Regions from separate parts of the Homo sapiens genome. Here region 2 is linked to region 1. The links are contacts of gene promoters, found by promoter capture Hi-C in human tissues and cell types (Jung and others, 2019). All regions are on one chromosome and are shown on one strand. Each heading gives the region's core, a stretch centred on a gene start or on the middle of the fragment in contact. The rest is flanking DNA. Distances are from core to core; before and after follow the strand shown. Region 1 holds the start of DEPDC7 (DEP domain containing 7). Region 2 overlaps PRRG4 (proline rich and Gla domain 4).

The links. Contacts are between HindIII fragments. The study calls those that stand out against the background at their distance.
Region 2: a fragment that was not itself captured here is called in contact with the fragment with the promoter of DEPDC7 in region 1 in 1 of the 25 tissues and cell types used here (spleen).

What each region holds. Positions count from the first base shown.
Region 1 is chr11:33,013,851-33,021,562 of GRCh38, forward strand. DEPDC7 (DEP domain containing 7) reads left to right here and starts at 2,028. Exons shown (of 9, transcript NM_001077242.2): 1 at 2,028-2,178. The coding sequence starts at 2,106. LOC105376615 (a long non-coding RNA gene) reads right to left here and starts at 1,940. Exons shown (of 4, transcript XR_931167.2): 1 at 1,427-1,940. RefSeq lists silencers at 1,873-1,922, 2,243-2,302. The HindIII fragment of the contact is 12,017 bases long and covers 1-7,712 here.
Region 2 is chr11:32,838,747-32,846,458 of GRCh38, forward strand. It overlaps PRRG4 (proline rich and Gla domain 4), which reads left to right. Exons shown (of 6, transcript NM_024081.6): 4 at 136-184; 5 at 1,361-1,493. Among named protein-coding and RNA genes, the nearest start is that of PRRG4, 13 kb to the left of the region's middle. The HindIII fragment of the contact is 4,260 bases long and covers 2,945-7,204 here.

The sequences.
Region 1 (7,712 bases), core at 778-3,277:
TCCAGAAGAGGTAAACAATTATTGCATAACCTGGTGAAAAACTCTCTGAAATGTTATATAAAGTATCAAAATGGTCACTGAGGTCACCAAGCTTTTTCAAATATTAGTGTTTTTCAAGATTTGTCTTCTGAGACAGATGAGCTTTTCCCCCCTCCCATGCAGTGAGGGAGGACTTGTGTGTTCATTCAGTTATACAGCACGGGATAAAGTTCATTGGTATACTGGGTGCCTGAAACCAGCCCTGAATGCATCCTCTTTCTGTGTGTAGCAGCCAATTGAGAGATTACAAAGAAAATCCTTAAACAGAAGTAAAGCAGGGTTTTACTACCATCAGGGGAAGAGGTCACATTAAAAAAAGGTTGCCAACTGGTTGGCAACCTTTTTTTTTCTTTTTTGAGATGGAGTCTCACTCTGTCATCCAGGCTGGAGTGCAGTGGCACAATCTTCGCTCATTGCAACTTCCGCCTCCTGGATTCAAGCGATTCTCCTGCCTCAGCTTCCCAAGTAGCTGGGATTACAGGTGCCTGCCACCACACTCGGACAGTTTTTGTATTTTTAGTAGGGGTTTCGCCATCTTGGCCAGGCTGTTCTCGAACTCCTGACCTCGAAGATCCCCCTGCCTCGGGCCCCCCAAAGTGCTGGGACTACAGGCGTGAGCCACCGTGCCTGGCCAGCTTTTTCTAACACTAAGCAGCAGCAACTGGCCCCCACCTCCCACCCACAAACCCAAGTCCCCAGGGGCAGCTTCTTAGTATGTATTCTCTGAAACAATCCCATGTAGAAGCTCTTTCCAATAAGCTAAATAATGAACTCCCACTTAAACACCATTCTAATTTACACCTAAATCACACAAGCATCCTCCTTCTAAGAAGACGTCATAATCGTTTTGAAAATCATTGCAAAATTCCCAAACTTGAAAAAAAAGAAAAAAAAAAGGGCAAGTGTCTGGCAATTGGATTATTGGTCTCTAAGACCACTCATCCTTTCAGAGGTATCCAGCATTGGATCCCTGGCCTGGCTTCAACTTCCAAGTAACTAAGATGTGTCCCATTAATAGCCCTTCCTCCTTTTCTCTCCTCACCTTCACTCCAACCGGCAGCAAACTGTCCCTACCCACCCGACCCACAGTTCCTTTGGAGGCAGCACAGATTTCCTGGCAGCCAGTCCCAGGGTCTTTCGTTGCTGCCCTCCTGTGACCTCTAGACATTGCTCTCCTGGGCCACATAGGATTTGTTTGTTCTGCACAGGTAGGGATGTCTGAAAAACTCGATTATTATTGTTATTATCACTATTACTACTACTACTATGACATAATTTTAAGCACTTACGTTCCGGACGCAGTTACTAAATGCTGAACCTGAATTGGTTCCTATAAACCTCGTTAAAAAACAAACAAACATCTCAGTGAAGCAGGTACTAAACCTACCCCCGCATCACAGGTGAGGACACCGACGCACAGAGCAGTTAGGCAGCTTGCCAGGTTCCCGACTTTTTCTATTTCTTTTTTTTTTTTTTTTTTTTTTGAGACGGAGTCTCGCTGTGTCGCCCAGGCTGGAGTGCAGTGGTGGATCTCGGCTCACTGCAACCTCCGCCTCCTGAGTTCAAGCGATTCTTGTGCCTCGGCCTCCCGAGTAGCTGGGATTACAGGCGCCTGTCACCAAGCCCAGCTAATTTTTGTATTTTTAGTAGAGAAGGGGTTTCGCCATGTAGGCCAGGCTGCTCTCGAACTCCTGACCTCAGGTGCTCTACCTGCCCTGGCCTCCCAAAGTGCTGGGATTACAGGCGTGAGCCACCGCGCCCGGCCTGGTCCCGAGTTAATCTACGGCAGGCCGCGGTTCGAATCCCGCTGGTGTGAGCCGCGGGCCGCGTAGTGCCGGCCCAGGGAACCGCTTTGTCCCCGACCACCGCTCGCGTGGCATCGCGCCCGAGGAAACTTGGATCGCTGGCGCCGCGGGCTACGTTCAGTGGTTGCCAGAGAGACACGTGACCGGCAGCGGGGGCGGGGCCTGCAGGGAGCCACGCCCCGCACAGTTAACAGACGGGCGCTCAGGGAGCTAGGGAGCTGTGAAGCTGCTGGAGGAGTTGGCGTCCGGGGAGCAAGGGCCATGGCCACCGTGCAGGAGAAGGCTGCTGCGCTGAACCTCTCGGCTCTCCACAGCCCCGCGCACAGGCCTCCGGGTAGGTGCCGAGGACTGCCGCCTGGGATGGCGCGGGGCGGGCTGGGGTGCGCGGGCTGGGTCCCGGCGCGGGGCGGGCGGCGTGGGGCGTTCGGCCGCCTGCGCCTGTCAACGGCCGGCTGGGCGAGCACAGCACAGCTGCGACCACTTGGCCAACGCCCCCGCCGAGCGGGCGGATCGAGTTCCTCTCTGGCTGGTGGGCTGCAAGCGGCAGAGCCCGCCCGCACAGCCCAGCTTTTTTCTTTCTACCCAGACTCTCAACTTGACCGCGCGTTGGTCTGTGCGCCCGCTAACGTGCCAGGCACGCGCCGGGGAGCTCCGGGATATGCTCCGCGGTGCTACCGGTGACAAGTGTGGTATCTGGAATTTGTGTAGTTCTTTGCCCCCTGTCTCAACCACAAACCTTGACGACACAGTATGGCCAGGGGCCGAGCTCCTCCCTTGCCCACTTTGTTCTCCAGACTGCTAGGAGTCAAGAGTCAGCTTGTCTCCCCAGACTCTTCCTGGGAGGGATGAGAGGTTTATGTGAGTTCTACTGGCAGGAATTTGGCATAAAAGGTATTTATTAACACTTTATGTATAAGCAGTATTTTAGTGAATAGAAGTTTTTGGCTAAAAAAACAGTTACATGAAATTAGGAGGGAAGTTGGCAAATTCTGCCACGGGCCTAATCGTGTCTTTTGGGGGCAGTTGATTTAGGATTCTGGTTTCTTTAAATGTTCAAACACATGAAGAGAATCGGATATCACTTCTAAAATGCTGGTTATAGCAGATCTACAACCCAGTTAATAGGGGTGACTCAGATAACTGTTAAGATACTCAGATAACCCTTGGCTTTTTTCTTTTGGTTAAGTTACAACTTTTTCCCCTTTCTGGAGCTCCAGTCTGGGATGTCGTAGGAATTAGTTCCCTTTCTGACAAAAGCCTTTCATTTGTAAAAACACCAACCAGTGAAACTGTGATTCCTTCCTCTGGGTCAAATGGGTGCTTCTCAGTGGCCCCACTCTTGTGTTTGACTTACTCACTAATGCTCATTTTAATCTTCAAAATGCTAACGACAGATTATGGTAGAGAACCATTTTTCACTTGTCCTTTTCTAAGAAAAATCATAATATTGACCTTAGTCTGCTTCCATGTAAAGGATTCAGGTAAGCACATAGTGGCCACATTGAGAATGTCTCCTTGATTTATGTTGTGAAGAGAAGACAAATGCTAAGACATTTGGGAATTTAAAACCAAATGACATTGAAAACAGTCTTGAGAAATCTTTTGGGCCCACTTACTCAGTGAAGGAAATTCCCAAATGTCACCTGCTTAAAATAAAAACATGGTACCCTGTTTTCTCTAATAGCTGAAATACCAATTCTGGAGCTTTGGGCATTTGTGAACAGGTTCTTAGATGGTGTAAGGAAGTATGTATTCAGAAATTAAGTAGATAACTCTCTAAGGGAAGAGTTGAAGTGCTGGTTATCAGGAATCAAAGGAACACTGTCCTCGGCACACTAGCTGCAGTGGACGGAGAGGGGCCCGCTGTTGTTCTCACTCGTTTTGCTTGCTACCGCTGGAATCCCGACCTGGTAACATTTGTTAGCCTTTCTTTCACCCTTTAGTTGCCTTGTCATAGTTCCAGTGAGCAAGGTAGTGGGAGCACACGGTTATTGGTTCTTTGCCATTCTCTTTCTGTGTGCTCTGGCAGGCAGCTTTGTACTTTTGTTTCTCCACCGATTAGTAACTCTCACTTACCTTAAAGGGGCTGTAATGACCAGGGACCTGATTTATGTACAAGAAATGAGATCTATATGCCAGTCTTCAGCCAGTATGTCAAAAACACTTGTCTTTTAATACGACAAACAAGAAAGTAGTCTGTTATCCTGTTATCCCTTTATACTGTAACCTAATTCTTTGAGTTTGCCTGGTATCACTTTTCCAGGGAGCTCAAAGTACTTCCCATATGCTGTCTCATTAATGTATGTGAATTAAAGCAGAGACCAATGTCTGCTTTTGCTGATAATTCTCGTAGATATTGTAAATTTTTCTTGTTGGTAGACTTCTTTTACCTACCTGCAGCCTTCTTTTCAGAGGCAATCGCAGTCTTCAGCATGACGCCTCTAATGCCAACTAGCAGGAAAATAAACTTTGGACTACCAGAACCAATATCCAGTAAAAGTGTTGTAATCTTGGGATCATAGTATAGAAAATTTTTCCACTCAGTCACAACTGTCAAGTTTTAACACCATAAACACAATTCTCTTTACATTTATCTATTAATATTTTCATGAGGTTTTGGTTACTATCCAACAAATGTCCTTTTTCTTTGTTGTCTTGACAATTCTTTGTGTGAGTAATATTTTAAAACCTCTTTTGAAAAAATCTTTCTTAAAATTCTCTTAAATCCTAAATGGTCTAGGATTTATAGATGTGTTATTTTCTGATGAAAAGTTAAATCCTCTGGTATGTGTCACATCTTGTCTTCTCATCTCCTGTTGGCCTTTATGTGATTGAATACTATTCAGAACTTGACATTATCATCCAGGTAGTAGGAGTAAATAAAAGGTAAACTCCTAAGGTTGGGGACTGTGTCCTCTGAGTTCAGAGGAAGGAAGAGGAAGAAAGATACCTCCCTTTTCTTTCTACTTTTAAAATAAAATTTTAGATTCACTAAATAGTATGGTCCATTTGTCATAATTAATGAACCAATATTGATACATATAATTATTAACTGAAGTCCACACTTAGATTCCCTTGGTGTTTGCCTAATGTTCTCTTCCAGGATCCCATCCAAGATATTATATTACATTCAGTTGTCATGTAATGAATCTACTCTTCTAGACTGTGACAGTTTGCTCCTTTTGTTTTTAGTGATACATCTGTTAATTTCTGGACATTTTGCGAGACACATTAACATATTGTCTCATGATCCTCGCAATGAGTGAGAGAAGTGGAGTTAGCTCTGTTTTGCAACAGAAAAGTTAGGCAGTTTGCCCAAGATCGTGTTATTAGTAAATGATGGACCCAACAACGGAACTCAGGTCCCTGGGACTGCAGAGTCCACACTGGTCTAACTCTTTGTAGTCACAGCACCTAGCACTGTGTCTGCTGCGTTAACTCAAGTTTCCATGTCTGAACAGTATTCAGTCAACCCAAGGTTTCTTAACCTTGGCACTACTGACGTTTTCTTTGTTGTGGGTGCTGTCTGTGCATTGTAAGATGTTTAGTAGCATCCCTCTACCCACTGGATGCCAGCAATACCCACACTCATTGTGACAATCAAAAATGTCTCCAGACATGTCCTGTTGGGGGTATAATCACCCACTGAGAACCACTGGGTTAACCTTCCTTTAAAAATTTTTTTTATGAACGGGGTGTAGTGGCTCACACCTGTAATGCCAGCACTTTGGGAGGTTGAGGCAGGTGGATCATTTGAGGCCAGGAGTTTGAGACCAGCCTGGCCAATGCGACAAAACCCCATTTCTACTAAAAATCCAAAAATTGTCTGGGTGTAGTGGCGCACACCTGTAATCCCAGCTACTCAGGAGGTTGAGGCAGGAGAATCGCTTGAACCCAGGAGGCAGAGGTTGCAGTGAGCCGAGATCACACCACTGCATTCCAACCTGGATGACAAAGTGAGACTCTGTCTCAAAAAAGAAAAAAAAGTAAGTTTTTTAGTAGTTAGCAATAATTAACAACTAACAAATATTGACTAACCAATTGTATTATATTGAGGCAATCTGTAAGGCAATTAAATAATTTAAACCTCTGTAAACCGCTAGGAAATCTGAAAGAAATCGGGCACTAGCTCACCATCTCTTAAAAGTTTTATGGAGAAACATCAACTGTCTGGATTCAGTTCCTTTTTTTTTTTTTTTTTTAAGTCCAGTCTAAAGACCGAGAATGGAAACAAATTTGTTATATGTTCATTAAGAGGTAGTGTGTTTTATTAATTCTGTGTGTATGTTTACCTTACATTGGGATCCAATTTTATAATGTGTATATTGATCTACTTCTAAAGATTTAATATAATCTTACTATTTGAAGTGATTATACAATTGTTTTCCCTTTAAATAGGTTTTCATAGGTTTTCACAGTAGGACTAGGGTTGCTGACAGGGTGGATTATGGTTGATGCTGATTATCCCTAATTTTTGGGTAAATGTAATTTCTTTACATTTTTAGGGAATTATTATGACTCAGTTATTTAGTGTGAATTCTTAGAAGTGAGGATGATTATTACTGGTACTACACGTATATATAAGTGTTCAATATTATCTTAGAAGTTTAACTTTTACTTTTGGTAAACGTTTTTTATGGTAGAGTTCAAATACATGTGAAGGGCAGCTTTTGAAAAATAGCTATTGTTTTCAAGCAAATAAGGATGAGACTGCTTGAAAAATGAAGGTTAACTAGCCTAGATTTATATAGTGCTTGAGACTATGTGTTGAAGGCTAGATAATCAAATTATTCCTGAGCCTCCTTAGGCAACCTTCCAAAAGGTTTTGTATCTGGTAGGGTCAAATTTGTCCATATGCTTCCTTTCTTGCCTATAGATCTGCCATATTTGGTGTTCAATGTCCTTATCTAAATGGAGGAGATATAATTTCAGTCTTTACATTCCTATAATCAGTTTATTTAAAGACAGGATCTCACTCTGTCACCCAGGCTGGAGTGCAGTGGTGCGATCCTAGCCCACTGTAACCTCGAACTCCTGGCCTCAAGCAATCTTCCCGCCATGGCCTCCCAAAGTCCTGGGGTCAGAGGCATGAGCCACTGTGCCTGCCCTGGCAGTTTAGACCTGAAACTAACCTAAAATATTGTGTTCAACTATTTTATCAGTAGATAAAGAAACCTACTTACAGAGATTGTCTCTTATCCAGAGTTTTTACAGCTGATCTCTAAACTCTTTGATTCCATTTGTTATGATGCTTTTAGAAAATGCTTGACCAGGCTGGGTGTGGTGGCTCACACCTGTAATCCCAGCACTTTGGGAGGCCGAGGTGGGTGGATCACGAGGTCAGGAGTTCCAGACCATCCTGGCCAACATGGTGAAACCCTGTCTCTACTAAAAATACAAAAAAAAATTAGCTGCACGTGGTGGCGCGTGCCTGTAATCCTAGCTACTTGGGAGGCTGAGGCAGGAAAATCACTTGAAGCAGGGAGTTGGAGGTTGCAGTGAGCCAAGATCGCACCACTGCACTCCAGCCTGGCGACAGAGTGAGACACCATCTCAAAAAAAAAAAAAGAAAAAAAAGAAAATGCTTGACCAAATGTAAGGAAGCATCAAGATGTAGATAGTGATGGATTTTAAAAGGTTGTTTAGCTCATATGAAAGTGAGGTTTGAGGACAAGCTGAACCCTTAATTCTGATTGCAAGACTTAAAAAACATTCATTGTCTATTTTTGGTCTCTTAAATCCTGTTTAGAAATCACAGTAAGTCATCTTACTGGGCCATGATCTGCTATACCAATATTCATTTCAGCTTTTAAATGACGATAAATAAGTTTCAAACCATATATGTTCAGCTGGTGAAGTCAGCATTTT
Region 2 (7,712 bases), core at 3,825-6,324, 170 kb before region 1:
TCCAGCTTGAATGAACTGGTCTCCTACCTATGGTGCATGCCAAGAGTTTACTACCCCTAGTCTAGGTCATTAGGACCAAATGAAATGTGATAATAAAGATATTGAATAAACTTGGGAATTTTACCTTTTTTTTAGATTGCATTTTGGCAGGAATATTCAGCTAAAGGACCAACCACAAAATCAGGTAAAACAAGAATTGATCAAATTTAATGCTTTTCTCATCCTCTCTCTGTTGTAATACATTTTAGTTTTATTGTTTGAGTTTGGTTGTTGCGCAACATACATACCTTATAAATCCAAGGAGATTTCTCAACTATGCACCGGGCTATCTCAGACAGAAAAGGACAGATTCATCTATTTAATACACTGAAAATCAAGTTTGGTGAGATACTAGGAAAATGAGATAATGGGCTTAAAGCTGTTTTAAACAGCTCAGCTAAGTCAAGACTTGCACAGAATAAAAGCAGATTCTATTCATTTCAAGATGTAAGCTATTTTAACTTTTTTTCTTTTTTACCATTAAAGGCAGATGGAACATTTATGCTAGATAAATTAAGATTGTTGGATCGAATTAAGTAACTTGTAGAGAGGGGAGATCTTTATCTCATCTGTATTGATCATCTCTAGCTGCATTTTAGTCAGGTGTTTTTTTCGCCAGCTATTCTTTCATTCCTCTTAGGTAGGGCCCCCTCCATGGCAGGTTATGTTGCATAGCTACCCTGAGTTGCTTAATAAATATTATCTCAGTGGTTAATACCAAAGTATGTCTAGTTGAGCAGTGAATATGTTTATCCCACTTAATGCTGAATATTATCCATTTAATAAATGGATATTTCAAATATTTTTAAATAAATAATTTTTAAATAAATAAATTTAAATAACAAAATATTTTGAATATTATTAAAATATAAGTATTATATTTTGAATATTATTAAAATATAAGTATTATATTTTGAATATTATTAAAATATAAATATATTTTGAATATTATTAAAATATAGATATATTTTGAATATTATTAAAATATAAATATATTTTGAATACTATTAAAATATAAATAGTATATTTTAAATATTATTAAAATATAAGTAGTATATTTTAAATATTTAAAAAATATATATATTTTAAATAAATAAATATATTTATATTTTAATAAATAAAAGAATAACCATAACTAGGGCTATTAGAAGTGTCATTTAAATTTTTTTCAGGTAGATTCTCTAGCACAAAGACTTGAAAGAAGTCAACATCAATGATTAGATGCTGTATAATGTGTTTAGAACCAGGATTAAATTTGTTGAAATCATAGGTGATGCTATATAGTTGTTATATTTATGTTATTTTAATGATTTATTTTAAGATGGCAACAGAGAGAAAATAGATGTTATGGGCCTTCTGACTGGATTAATTGCTGCTGGAGTATTTTTGGTTATTTTTGGATTACTTGGCTACTATCTTTGTATCACTAAGTGTAATAGGCTACAACATCCATGGTAAGTACTAAGTGAAATTATTTAATTCATCACTAGACATTCTATATTATTATTTTAACAATGGGTCAAGCAAATGGCTGCCTATTTTCTTAAATAAGCCTTTTATTTTGGAAGAATTTTAGATGTATAGGGAAGTTGCAAAGGTTAATACAGAGAGTTCCCACATATCCATCACCCAATTTCCCACATTGTTAATATCTTGTATTACCATAGTAGATTTATCAAAACTAAGAAAATGACATTGGTTCATGACTATTAACTAAACTCCAGACTTTGATTTCAGCAGTTTTCCCACTGGTGTTTTCCTTCTGCTGCAGGATCCAGTCAAGTTACCACATTGCATTTAGCTGTCATGTCTTCCCAGTCTGTGGCAATTGTCTGGTCTCCTAATTTAACATTTACATAAACAACCTAATGATGCTATTTCTAAGGTCCTTCGAAAGAATACAAGAAGTTTCACATAGGTCAGCTTCATTTTTCAGTATTTCCTTCTTAAGCAAGAGGCAGATACCAGTGTCTTCACATTATTTCCAGAGGCAAGAAGTCCTATAGTTTACGCTGAGTCACAGAGTTAACAGATCCACATGGCTACCCAAATAGAAACAGTGTAACTGGCTTTTAAATTCAACTATTTTTATTAACACTTTAAATTGAAGTTAATAAAATAAAATGCTTACCAATTGAGGATAATAGCACATTGATAAAGCTTCAGAAAGATTCATAAAGGCCATAATTGTTTGCATAATAGAAGCTCAGCATCCCTATTGAAATAAAAAGTACTGATTATCTTCCCAGTAAGTATGGCTGAGTAGGCGTAGAAACAATCTTATTAAAAAAAAAAAAAGCAGCAGATGCTAAACAGGCTATTAGAAATTGATACTTATTTATCACTATTCACACTTTCAAATTCTATGAACAAGCTCAAGGTGGCGATCATGTTACTTTCTTTTATGATAACGATCATTTTACTTATCTTTTCAGCAAAATGGGCAGTGTTTTTGTATCCCTCCAAAAGAATAGAAAGTATTCTTTATCATATATATTAGAAGACTCTTTGTCTTCTAAATTAATAATAGCTTTCAATTCATATCAAGTAAACTTTAAATTTTACATAACAATTGACCTATATTGTTCAAAAAATGTCAGTGTCATGAAAGACAAAGACAGGCTAAAGAAATAACTGTTCCAAATTAAAGTAAATGACATGACAATTAATGCAATGTGTGATCCTGGACTGAATCCTAGACCAAAAAAATGAATTGCTAAAAAGGAAAATTTGCCTGGCATGGTGGCTCACACCTATAATCCCAGCACTTTGGGAGGCCAAGGTGAGAGGATCACTTGAGGCCAGGAGTTCAAGACTCAAGACCATCCTGGGCCACATAGTGAGACTCCTATCTCTATAAAAAAAAATTCAAAAATTAGCTGGGCACGGTGGCCTGAGGCTGTAGTCTCATCTGCTTGTGGGGCTGAGGTGGGAGGATCATCTGAGCCTAGGAAGTCAAGGCTGGAGTGAGCCATAATTGCACCACTGCACTCCAGCCTGGACAACAACAACAACAACAAAAAGGAAAATTTAGGAGAAAATTTGGATATAGCTACATGTTAGATAATAGTAATGAACCAATGTTAAGTATTCCAAATTTATGTGAAGATCTTTTCAAAATACTTAATTCTGTAGTGGTTCTAAAATTCTATTGGCAGTCAGTAAAAAACAGAAGATAATTACAACAACATGGCATCAAAAATTATTTTTAATTGGTTAAATATTTAGAGTTTTTGTCCATTTTAAAAGAGGATTGTACAACTATTCAAGTCTAAATACAATATAAAAATAGGCCTATAAGAAACTGGAAGACTTTAATCACAACTGTTTAATTGGTTTAAAGTTTTTCTTCATTGTTTCATATCCAGATATAAAATGAAAATAGAATGACATGTATAGGAAGGGCACCAAACTAGGAATTTGGAGGCAAAAATTCTCATGTTAATTTTGCCACTATTTATGGAGCTTGAAGCAAATTCCTTGATTTTTTTAAGATCTTTCCTCATCTAAAAGAGGAATGAAAGGAATAGACTGTGATTCCTCTTAAAGTTCCTTAATATTTTTTTATTTTGCCAAAGATGAGAACAAATTTTTTGCCCTTGATTATATTGTCAGAATTAGAGTTTTTAAAGTTATTTATTAAAAAGAAGCTTGGCTGGGAGCAGTGGCTCACACCTGTAATCCCAGCATTTTGGAAGGCCAAGCCGGGCAGATCACCTGAGGTCAGGAGTTCAAGACCAGCCTGACCAACAAGGAGAAACCCCGTCTCTACTAAAAATACAAAATTAGCCAGGCGTGGTGGCACATGCCTGTAATCCCAGCTACTCGGGAGGCTGAGGCAGGAGAATCACTTGAACCCAGGAGGCAGAGGTTGTGGTGAGCCGAGATCAAGCCATTGCACTCTAGCCTAGGCAGCGAGAGTGAAACTCTGTCTCAAAACATTAATTAATTAATTAAAAACTAAAAAGAAGCTTTTACATATATACACATGTAAATGAAATTAGTAAATATAAAAGATACATTTTCCTCTAAAATTTAATAAAAATATTTTCTCTTGAAGAAAGTGTATTATTATTATTATTTAGAGATGGAGTCTTGCTCTGTTGCCCAGGCTGGAGTGCAATGGTGTGATCTCGGCTCACTGCAACCTCTGCCTCCTGGGTTCAAGCAATTCCCCTGCCTCAGTCTCCTGAGTAGCTAGGATTACAGGCGTGTGCCACCACACCCAGCTAATTTTTGTAGAGACGGGGTTTCACCATGTTGGCCAGGCTAGTCTCCAACTCCTGGCTTCAAGTGATCCATCTGCTTCGGCCTCCCAAAGTTTTCGGATTACAGGCATGAGCCACCGTGCCCAGCCAGAAGAAAGTTTAAAGTAGGTTGTTTCATTTCATCTGGTGTTAATTGCTTAAAAAATCATTTCCATTGTGATAAGAGCATCTGAAAATGTGCTGATTATGGAGGCTGAGGTCTTTAAAAAGATTTTATCCTGTTTTTTGCCTACAAAAGTAATACATGCATTATTTTAAAATTCAAATATTATAGAAAGGTATAATATAAAAAATGAAAGTCCTCATAATCCTACTTTTCAAAAATAACCACTATTATGAATTTGGTATGTAAAACTCCAGATTTTTTTCTATGCATATACTATTCAGTTGGTGCAAAAGCAATTGCGGTTTTTGCCATTTAAAGTACTGGCAATTGCTTTTGCACCAACCTAATAACATATTTTATGTTTTCAAAAGAAATGTTCGTTACATGTCCTCCTCTGCAACTTGCCTTTGGCACTGAACAATATAATTTAAATATATTTCCAGTGCAGTACATTTTTAAAAAATAGTAAAATATATGTAACATAAAATTTACCATCTTAACCGTTTTTAAGTATACAGTTCAGTAGTATTAAGTTGATTCACTGTTGTGCAACCAATCTCCCGTTTTTCTGTTTTTTTTTTTTTTATTTTGCAACAGTGAAGTTCTGTGCCCAGTGAACAAACTGTTTCCCATTCTCCCCTCTCCCTAGGCTTTAGCAACCACTATTTTACCTTTTGTCTCTGAATTTTACTACAATAACACCTCATGTAAGTGGAATCATACAGTATTAGTCTATTTTTGACTGGCTTATCTAGCGCAGTAATTTTAAATCATTAATAGAGTCTCTTCAAAATGTTTTATTACAGCATTTCATTTATGTTTGATGAAGTTTTTTTAAATTCTAAAATATAGTAAGATGTGATTCCTTTCTAAAATACATTAGTCCTAGCCCAGCTCCTGTTTCTGGAAGAGACCACCAAGGTGTATTCTCCCTATCCTAGAAATAGATATGGTATAGTGGTTCACTGTGTGAGCTCTGGAGCCAGACTGCCTGGATTCAAAACCCTGGTACGCCACTAACTAGCCGTTTGACTTTGGAAATGTTACTTAAACTTATACTCTGCCTCAGTTTCTCTGTGAGTAAATTGAAGGTAATAATCTGAGCCACCACACTACATAGTTCCAGAGAGTTGCCATTCACATGGGCTACTGTATGAATGGTACCCTCTGGTTTGTGTAGTATGGTAGCTCAGATAATAACTGTATGTATGTCATAAGGGACTTACAGGATTTAAATGACGTGATACACAAAAAGTACTTAAGAGAGTGCTTGGTAGCAAGAGTAGCAAGTACTCAATAAATGTTAGCTATTATTATTATTATTATTATTATTATTATTATTATTATTATTATTATTTTGAGACGGAGTCTAGCTCTGTTACCCAGGCTGGAGTACAGTGGCATGATCTCGGCTCACTGCAACCTCTGCCTCCTGGGTTCAAGCGATTCTCCTGCCTCAGCCTCCCAAGTAGCTGAGATTACAGGCATCTGCCACCATGCCCAGCTAATTTTTGTATTTTTAGTAGAGACGAGGTTTCACCATGTTGGCCAGGCTGGACTTGAACTCCTGACCTCAAGTAATCCTCGTGCCTTGGCCTCCCAAAGTGCTGGGATTACAGGCATGAGCCACTGCACCCGGCCCAGCTATTATTATTATGAATTTGCAAACTAAGATTTTTCTAAAAAGCTTTCACTGGAATGTTTATGTATTCCCATCCAATATTTGTATTTCTTTAAAAATATGTCTAGACTGTAAATGAACTGCAGATTCTCCAGTGTTCATATAAAATTAAAACATATTATCAGAAGGTAATATAGATAGTATAATCAGAAAGTATTATATTGCAAATAAGTTTTCTTCAAATTTGGTAGATCTACAAAAATTTTATTTGGCCTATGAAATCTCCCTAGCTTACCTGACCTTTATGATCTTGTAAAAAAAATAAAAATAAAAATAAAAAAAATCTCCCTTAGCTGTATTTATAACCATCTTCCACATCACCTGCTGTTGCTAACCATATACTGTACACCACTTTCACACTACCTTCTCATTTAGTACTCTCAGTATTTGTATAGTGTATTATGGCACATAAAGGAGATTACATGGAGTGATTACCATTTGAGTGAGGCAACTACATAACAAAAAAGCAACTTGGATATAAACTTGTAAGATAGAGAACACTCGGCTGGGTGCGGTGGCTCACGTCTGTAATCCCAGCACTTTGGGAGGCCGAGACGGGCGGATCACGAAGTCAGGAGATCGAGACCATCCTGGCTAAAACGGTGAAACCCCGTCTCTCCTAAAAATAAAAATAAAAAAAAATCAGCCGGGCGTGATGGCGGGTGCCTGTAGTCCCAGCTACTTGGGAGGCTGAGGCAGGAGAGTGGCGTGAACCCGGGAGCTTGCAGTGAGCTGAGATTGTGCCACTGCACTCCAGCCTGGGCAACAGAGCAAGACTCCGTTTCAAAAAAAAAAAAAAAGATAACACTGTTCTTATAAATGGCTAGGAATGTCAAGTCAAGCAGGCATACCATCAGTGTGGGATACAACTAGTCACTTTGGCGGACATGGGTTTTAGAGGAATTAACTAGGAAGGGGTGTTTCAAGAAAGTGGACCCACAGGAGCAAAGACAGGTACTACCAAGGCTCATATAGGAGATGATAAGCAAAATAGTCTTGACCAAAGATTTTTTAAAAAAATAATTGTAAGCCAAGGCCAGGCACGGTGGCTCATGCCTGTAGTCCCAGCTTTGGGAAGCCGAGGCAGGAAAATCACTTGAGCCCACGAGTTTGAGATCAGCCTGGGCAACATGATAAAACCCCATCTCTACTAAAAATACAAAAAAAATTAGCCAGGTGTGGTGGTGTGTGCCTTTATACCCAACTACTAGGCGGGCTTAGGTGGGAGGAGCACCTGAGCCCAGGAAGTGGAGGCTACTGTGAGCCGTGATCATGCCATTACACTCCAGCCTGGACAATGGGAGAGAGACCCTGTCTTAATAATAAAAAATAATAATAATAATAATAATTGTAGAGACAGGATCTCACTATGTTGCCCAGGCTGATCTGGAACTCCTGGCCTCAGGCAATCTTCCTGCCTCTGCCTCTCAAAGTGCTAGGATTACAGGCATGAGCCATGGGGCCAAGCCCTTGACCAGAGATTTAAGACCTGTGATGAAGAGTAGTGAGTGACTTGGGAAATGTTGTATAATTGGAATGGCAGCCACGAATTTACATTTGAGTTGCCAGACATGAGGTGGACCACTTAAGCAGAGGATTAAAAGGAAAAATAGCCTTT